Regions from separate parts of the Homo sapiens genome. Here region 2 is linked to region 1. The links are contacts of gene promoters, found by promoter capture Hi-C in human tissues and cell types (Jung and others, 2019). All regions are on one chromosome and are shown on one strand. Each heading gives the region's core, a stretch centred on a gene start or on the middle of the fragment in contact. The rest is flanking DNA. Distances are from core to core; before and after follow the strand shown.

What was found. The method cuts DNA at HindIII sites, captures the fragments that hold promoters and counts their contacts. A contact is called where the count stands out against the background at its distance.
Region 2: a contact is called between a fragment that was not itself captured here and the fragment with the promoter of FAM81B in region 1, in 1 of the 25 tissues and cell types used here (pancreas).

The regions. Positions count from the first base shown.
Region 1 is chr5:95,389,772-95,393,183 of GRCh38, forward strand. It overlaps FAM81B (family with sequence similarity 81 member B), which reads left to right and starts at 1,595. Exons shown (of 10, transcript NM_152548.3): 1 at 1,595-1,742; 2 at 3,023-3,126. The coding sequence starts at 1,619. It overlaps LOC105379089 (a long non-coding RNA gene), which reads right to left and starts at 1,401. Exons shown (of 3, transcript XR_948586.1): 1 at 1,299-1,401. RefSeq lists an enhancer at 2,755-3,412. The HindIII fragment of the contact is 13,198 bases long and covers 803-3,412 here.
Region 2 is chr5:95,356,078-95,359,784 of GRCh38, forward strand. No RefSeq gene overlaps it. Among named protein-coding and RNA genes, the nearest start is that of FAM81B, 33 kb to the right of the region's middle. The HindIII fragment of the contact is 3,102 bases long and covers 1-2,940 here.

The sequences.
Region 1 (3,412 bases), core at 345-2,844:
CACGATGAAACCCTGTCTCTACTAAAAATACAAAAAATTAGCCGAGTGTGGTGGTGGGCACCTGTAGTCCCAGCTATTTGGGAGGCTGAGGCAGGAGAATGGCATGAATCTGGGAGGCCAAGCTTACAGTGAGCCAAGATCGCACTATTGCACTCCAGCCTGGGTGACAGTGCAAGACTACAACTCAAAAAAAAAAAAAAAAGAATGGCAATTACATTTCAACATGAGTTTTGGTGGAGAGATTCAAACCAGAGCAGACATTAATAATATACATATATATTATGTGCATTGTTATGTTAAAATTGAATAGCCATTTATGTTTAGAGAACAAACCTACCAAAATTGTCCATTTTAGTAGGGCCCATTTTTCTAACCAAATACCATGGATTAAAAGCTGAATTTAAGAAGAGAAAGAATCTTAAAAAGTTGTTAAGCAAGGTTAAATCTAGTTTTTCTTTCTCACACAGACTCTGCTTGTGACTGTTTCTTGGATAATTGGCACCTTGTGAAATAATCGCTAATAATAGTTATCTTTTAGTGGATTCCTGGCACCGCCCTCAGCTGAGCGCTGTAAGTATATTATTACATTTAATCCTCTCAACCATCTTATGGGATCGATATTATTAGCTCATTTCACAGAGGAGAAAGTTGAGGCTTAAAGAGGTGATGTAATTTTGTCCAAACTAAACAGCTGGTAGGTTGAGGAGTCAGGGTTCCAATCCACTCTCTCAGAATCTGTAGCCACCTGCTCTTAGTCACTGCTGTGTGTCAGTCTCCCTTGGCACTAGATACAATGGTGATTAGGGTAGCATAATGAGCCTTTTGGACTGCTTGCAAACCATGAACTACTGCATCTTTGAGTTTTAAGGGCTTAGCTTAGGACTAGGGGATATGCATGGAAGCCCAAATCATAGGTGTCCTTTATCTGTGGGATCAAAGTTTGTCACTCAGCATCCTGAACATTGTGTGCCTTTAAACAAGGCAAATCTGATACCATAATTTGGACAACAACTTAGCCAAAGCATCATTTCTGTATATGGAGGCCAAGTAGTACTAACAAACATGCAAATTCTAATTTTAAAACTCAGACAAACATTTTACAGCTAAAACAATCCACCCCCTTTTGGCTAAATAACTGAACAAAATTTCCCCTACAAAGGCAAAGTTCAATATTTTCATTTCTGTAAAACTCTGACCCATGTCACTTTTCATCAGTGCTGCACTATCTGTGAAGTCCCCTTCTAACCTAGAAGAGTTAGCTTCCTCCCTAACATACTTGGAGAAAGATTTGGGCATACCGCAGCATTTCATTTCCTCTTTGTCTAGCTTGATGATAACTCGTCACTTTTCAAACTGTGAAGATGAAATCAGGAGAAGAGTGTGAAATATCAGTATAACAATGGCCACTTCCCACCCCATGAGACAAAGAAGTGAAAGGCTTAGTGATTTGTATGATGATGAGCACTACAGAAAACATTCAAAGCTTCTAAATCCCAGGGATTTCCTGACTTCAGTTGTGAGGGCCAGCCACACTGACATCATAGATCCTTCCTGCAGTCACAATGCTACTAAGTCACCCTTGGGAAGAGGCCCCAGAAACAGGAAGACCTTAGTTAGGATGCAATTACAATTCCTTGGTACATTGGCTTCCTCAGAAAAAAGAAAAAAATCACAGAGATTGTTTTTCAAAAATATCAAATCTACAAAAAATAAAGCTGGAAAAGCAAGCATCATGAGTTCAGGTACTTATGGACTATTCGAGGTCTCTAAATTTCTCCTACTTCACTATCTTTCTTCTGTTTCTTATTACATATAAACAAAATAATGAATCCCAATGAAGACCCTCAGAAGGCTTGGGCACAACAGAGTAATAACTTAAACAAATGTACAAGAAAAAAAAACCCCATCAAAAAGTGGGCAAAGGATGTGAACAGACACTTCTCAAAAGAAGACATTTATGCAGCCAAAACATACGAGAAAAAGCTCATCATCACTTGTCATTACAGAAATGCAAATCAAAACTACAATGAGATACCATCTCATGCCAGTTAGAATAGTAACCATTAAAAAGTCAGGAAACAACAGATGCTGGGGAGGATGTGGAGAAATAGGAACGCTTTTATACTGTTGGTGGGAGTGTAAATTAGTTCAACCATGTGGAAGACAGTGAGGTGATTCCTCAAGGATCTAGAACTAGAAATACCATTTGATCCAGCAATCCCATTAATGGGTATATACCCAAAGGACTATAAATCATTCTACTATAAAGACACATGCACACGTATGTTTATTGCAGCACTGTTCACAATAGCAAAGACTTGGAACCAACCCAAATGCCCATCAATGATAGACTGGATAAAGAAAATGCCGCACATATACACCATGGAATACTATGCAGCCATAAAAAAGGATGAGTTCATGTCCCTTTGCAGGGACATGGATGAAGCTGGAAACCATCATTCTCAGCAAACTAACACAGGAACGGAAAACCAAACACCACATGTTCTCACTCACAAGTGGGAGTTGAACAATGAGAACACATGGACACAGGGAGGGGAACATCACACACTGGGGCCTGTTGGGGGTTGGGGGCTAGAGGAGGAATAGTATTAGGAGAAATACCTAATGTAGATGATGGGCTGATGGGTGCAGCAAACCACCATGGCACGTGTATACCTACGTAACAAACCTGCATGTTCTGCACGTGTATCCCAGGACTTAAAGTATAATTTAAAAAAAATACATTCCTGATTATTTTAGAGCTGTCTGATCCTAAAAAAGTTTCTAAAGGTCTTATAGAAGTATCTGTAAAGAAATGCTCTTCTAGCTAACTATAGATGTTATGGGGGGATGGGGGAGAATTGGGATAAGTGAGGAGAGGGGAAATGTAAAGCAAATTGAAAGCCTCCCTTTAAGCCAAGCTATATGTACAGAAACTGCCCTCAATTAAAAAAAAATTAGCAGCACTGCAAAAATTCACTTGTCATAGTTCCTGACCTGATTCAGCATTCTGGTTACCTAGATACAAATGTAAACAAAAGTGCCTCTCCAACTGCGACTGCAGAGGAACAGCCAGTTGAACCTGATGGCCCCCTTCCTGGCTCAGACAATAACCAAGAAAAGAAAGCAAGTACTTTTCAATATTCACATTAAAAGTAGAATACTTTGCTCAGCTTCTTTAAAGTTTAGAGTGCTTAGAGAGTTTAAGAAGTTCTGGAAGAATAGTTCTCCCACATTTCCTGTTTGTTCTGTCTTGGCAAAATGGCTGCTGAAAACACAAGCTGAAAAGAAAAATGACCTCAATTTACAATTTCATTAATTAGACTGATTTTTAATATATGGGGCTAAAATTCTTTTAAGTTGATCATTATGTATGTTTTATGATGATTCAAAAGGAACCATGATAAACTCA
Region 2 (3,707 bases), core at 140-2,639, 34 kb before region 1:
TAGTGCCTCAATAAACATACGTGTGCATATGTCTTTATAGCATCATGATGTGCAATCCTTTGGGTATATACCCAGTAATGGGATGGCTGGGTTAAATGGTATTTCTAGTTCTAGATCCTTGAGGAATCGCCATAGTGTCTTCCACAATGGTTGAACTAGTTTACAGTCCCACCAACAGTGTAAAAGTGTTCTTATTTCTCCACATCCTCCTGTTGTTTCCTGACTTTTTAATGATTGCCATTCTAACTGGTTTGAGATGGTATCTCATTGTGGTTTTGATTTGCATTTGTCTGATGGCCAGTGATGATGAGCATTTTTTCATGTGTCTGTTGGCTGCATAAATGTCTTTTTTCAAAAAGTGTCTGTTCATATCCTTCGCCTACTTTTTGATGGGGTTGTTTGATTTTTTCTTGTAAATTTGTTTAAGTTCTTTGTAGATTCTGGATATTAGCCCTTTGTCAGATGGGTAGATTGTAAAAATTTTCTCCCATTCTGTAGGTTGCCTTGTTCACTCTGAGGGTAGTTTCTTTTGCTGTGCAGAAGCTCTTTAATTTAATTAGATCCCATTTGTCAATTTCGGCTTTTCTTGCCATTGCTTTTGGTGTTTTACTCATGAAGTCCTTGCCCATGCCTATGTCCTGAATGGTATTGCCTAGGATTTCTTCTAGGGTTTTTATGGTTTCTATCCCAAGTATATCTTAACATGGCTTATAAACTAGTGACTCCACTGACATGTTTTCTTATCCCGCCTTTGACCTGTCATCCTTTTGGAGCAAGCCATTGCATAGATTTAATCTCAGTACAAGGGTAGCTATTGTCCCTGGGCCATAACTAAGTCAAAGGGTTATTTTCTCTGAGACTTCACTTTCTGCGGTAGGTGCATTCTGCCACTATCCCAAAGGGAGACGAAGAGCTCTGTCCCCAGACCACCTTCATTCCCTGTCATTCTAATGTATGTCTTTTACTCCATCCTACAGGCTCAGTGAGACCACAGCAGGTCCTCAGCCCATCTCTCACCCTGAATATTTCCTAGGAAGGAGTCAGACACCAGTTCAGTGTGTCCTCCTAACTTAAGGGGACACATGTCATATTCTCCAACAGATCCCATCAAAGCCCCTCTCTCTTGACTCGGCCTGCAAGGGAAGTACCCACACACATATAAACCTTTCCTCCTTGAGGACTAGGTGTCCGATGAAATCCTTTTCACAAATTCTCCCTGATCTCCAACAACTGACCTTCTTTATCCTTGAGGTAATAGAGAGGTGTCTGAATCATATAACTACTTTTGGGGTATTTGCTTGGAAATTCCTATAGGATGCTCTCACAGCTCATATTTTGATGTGATACTTATCACCCAAGGATTCAGCCAAAACTTCCATTTTAACTTTCGGTTCCCAGCAAGAACTAATAGCTAGCTCATAGCAGCACCAAAACCCCATAAAGTCTGCAAGATAAAAAAGATCCTTTACCAACTACGTTTAAGACAACAACCCTCCATAATATCACATCTGGAGAACAATCACTTCATGACCACCTTGTACACTATGTTTTAGTCTCTGAAGCTACATACCTTTTGGGGAGAGAGCTTGATGAACACCATTGCTTTGACTCATTCTAAACACAAGCCACCTTGGCTGCCTGACATATCCCTCTCTTTAATCTACCTGGTAAATAGTGTCAGATTCATTCCCCATGTGTACTGCAGATTAAAAAGGCACCCAAGTTCAGCTCAGCAGCATTTCAAAAGTCAAAACTGCTATAAATAAATACAAGACATCTTTCCATTCTGAAGTTTGGTAATTCAAGACTATGCATCTTTGTGTTTGGGGCCCTCTAAATAACAGGGCAGATAAATCCATAGTTTGACATTAGATGAGGCATGGAGTCTTCTAAATATTTACAGAAGCAGTAGGTTCTTTAATTATTTTGGAATAGCAATTATAAAAATAATGCATGCTCACTAATTAAGTACCAATGCTGACCTGGATAAAGAACAGCATCTAAATAAATACTTGAATTCTACCATCTAAAATATCCATGATTAAAAGGAGATAAATGTCATTTTAGACACGGTTCTATCCATACAAACGAATATATAATAGATAGCTAGTTTAAATAGCTAGATAGATAAATGGAGAGAAATACCTCCTTCTTTTAAAAGCAAGAATACAATTGAAAATACCATCAAATACATCCAAGCTTCTTTCTAAGCATTAATTACATTATACTGCATTTCATTCATTTAAAATATCAGGGCTCTGTTTTGTCTCTAAGAAAAGAAGCAAAAAAGGGAATCCCCTTCGGAGATGTCTGGGGAAAAGTTAGATTAGAAAGCCAAGGCAGATTCCTGCAATTTCCACAAAAGCACTGGCAGATACTGGAGCAGAGAGAGACTGTGAGAGGCTGAGAGCTGAGAGTGCCTGGGGACCAGAGGAAGTTTATGGTTATGCTTCATTTGAACAGGAAGATAGTTACAAGGGTATTTGATCTCTCACACTTTGCTCGCTCTTGAGTTGTGGTCTTGTTTATTGATCATTTTACTTATATTAAAGATAAAATTGTGTCTGTGAATGAATATCCATGGCCCTATTTTCAATAGCAAATGCTTCCTACATACTCTATTAGGTTCTGGAGATACAGAGACCATCCCTGCACTTAAGATATTTGCAGTTCATCATTGAGCAATGGCAGTAAGATGTGGTAAGTACTACAATAAAATGATTTACAAAGAGCTCTCAGAACAAAATAAAGAAAAAGAAGTTGCTTAGTCTTAGGCACTCCAGGAAAAGGGAGTGGTGTGTGCAACAATCTAGGAGGTGACAATACCTGATTTATTTCTGGAATGGGAACTAGTTCCATAGGCAGAGGAGGCTGCCTTGTCAGCACCCCTGTGTGAGTTTGCTGACTCTGATGCACACACCTCTAGGCTGCCACGGATTTTGTAAGTCAAGTAAAAAGAAAGAGGAAATGGCATGAGGGCTTACCCAGGTGCCAATCAAGTAACTGTGACATCTTGAAACCATCCTGGTGTTTAGGTTAAACATGCACCTTTGAGAAAGCCATCTCACTTTCTTGTTTAATTAATTAGTCAAAGAAATTATGTGACAGTTACGTGCAGTAGACTGGAGTCAACTGCAACAACTTTCTCTTCCCTATTCCACCCTCAGACCCCAGCCTCTCATTAATTCCTTCCTTTGTTCCTACTTAGTGCATTCAGAGGAATAATGTTTTCAAATACATTTATTTTAAAATAAAAAGATCCTTGAAGGTATCCTCGAGTAACTCTCAGAACACTTTTCCAAGAATTCTAGGAAGGGAGGGAGGGAGGGAGGAAGGGAGGAAAGGAGGAAGGACAGAAGGAAGAGAGAAAGGGAGGAAGGAAGGAAGGGAGGGGAAGGGAAGGGAAGGGGAGGGGAGGGGAGGGCAGGGAAGGGGAGGGGAGGGGAGAGGAGAGAGAGAGAGAGAGAGAGAGAGAGAGAGAGAGAGAGAGAGAGAGAGATCCAAAACACTTACAGATTTTAGAAATGTCCTTCCCTAAGCAGGATATTCTCTTTAGGTAGGTTCTTCCAGACCATCAACATCACCTGGTAACTTGTAAAAATGCTGTTTCTCCAGCCCCACCCCAGACCCATGGAACCAGAAACTCTTGGGTTGGAACCCAGCCATCTGCATTCTAACAAGCTTCCAGGTGATTATGATAAACACAT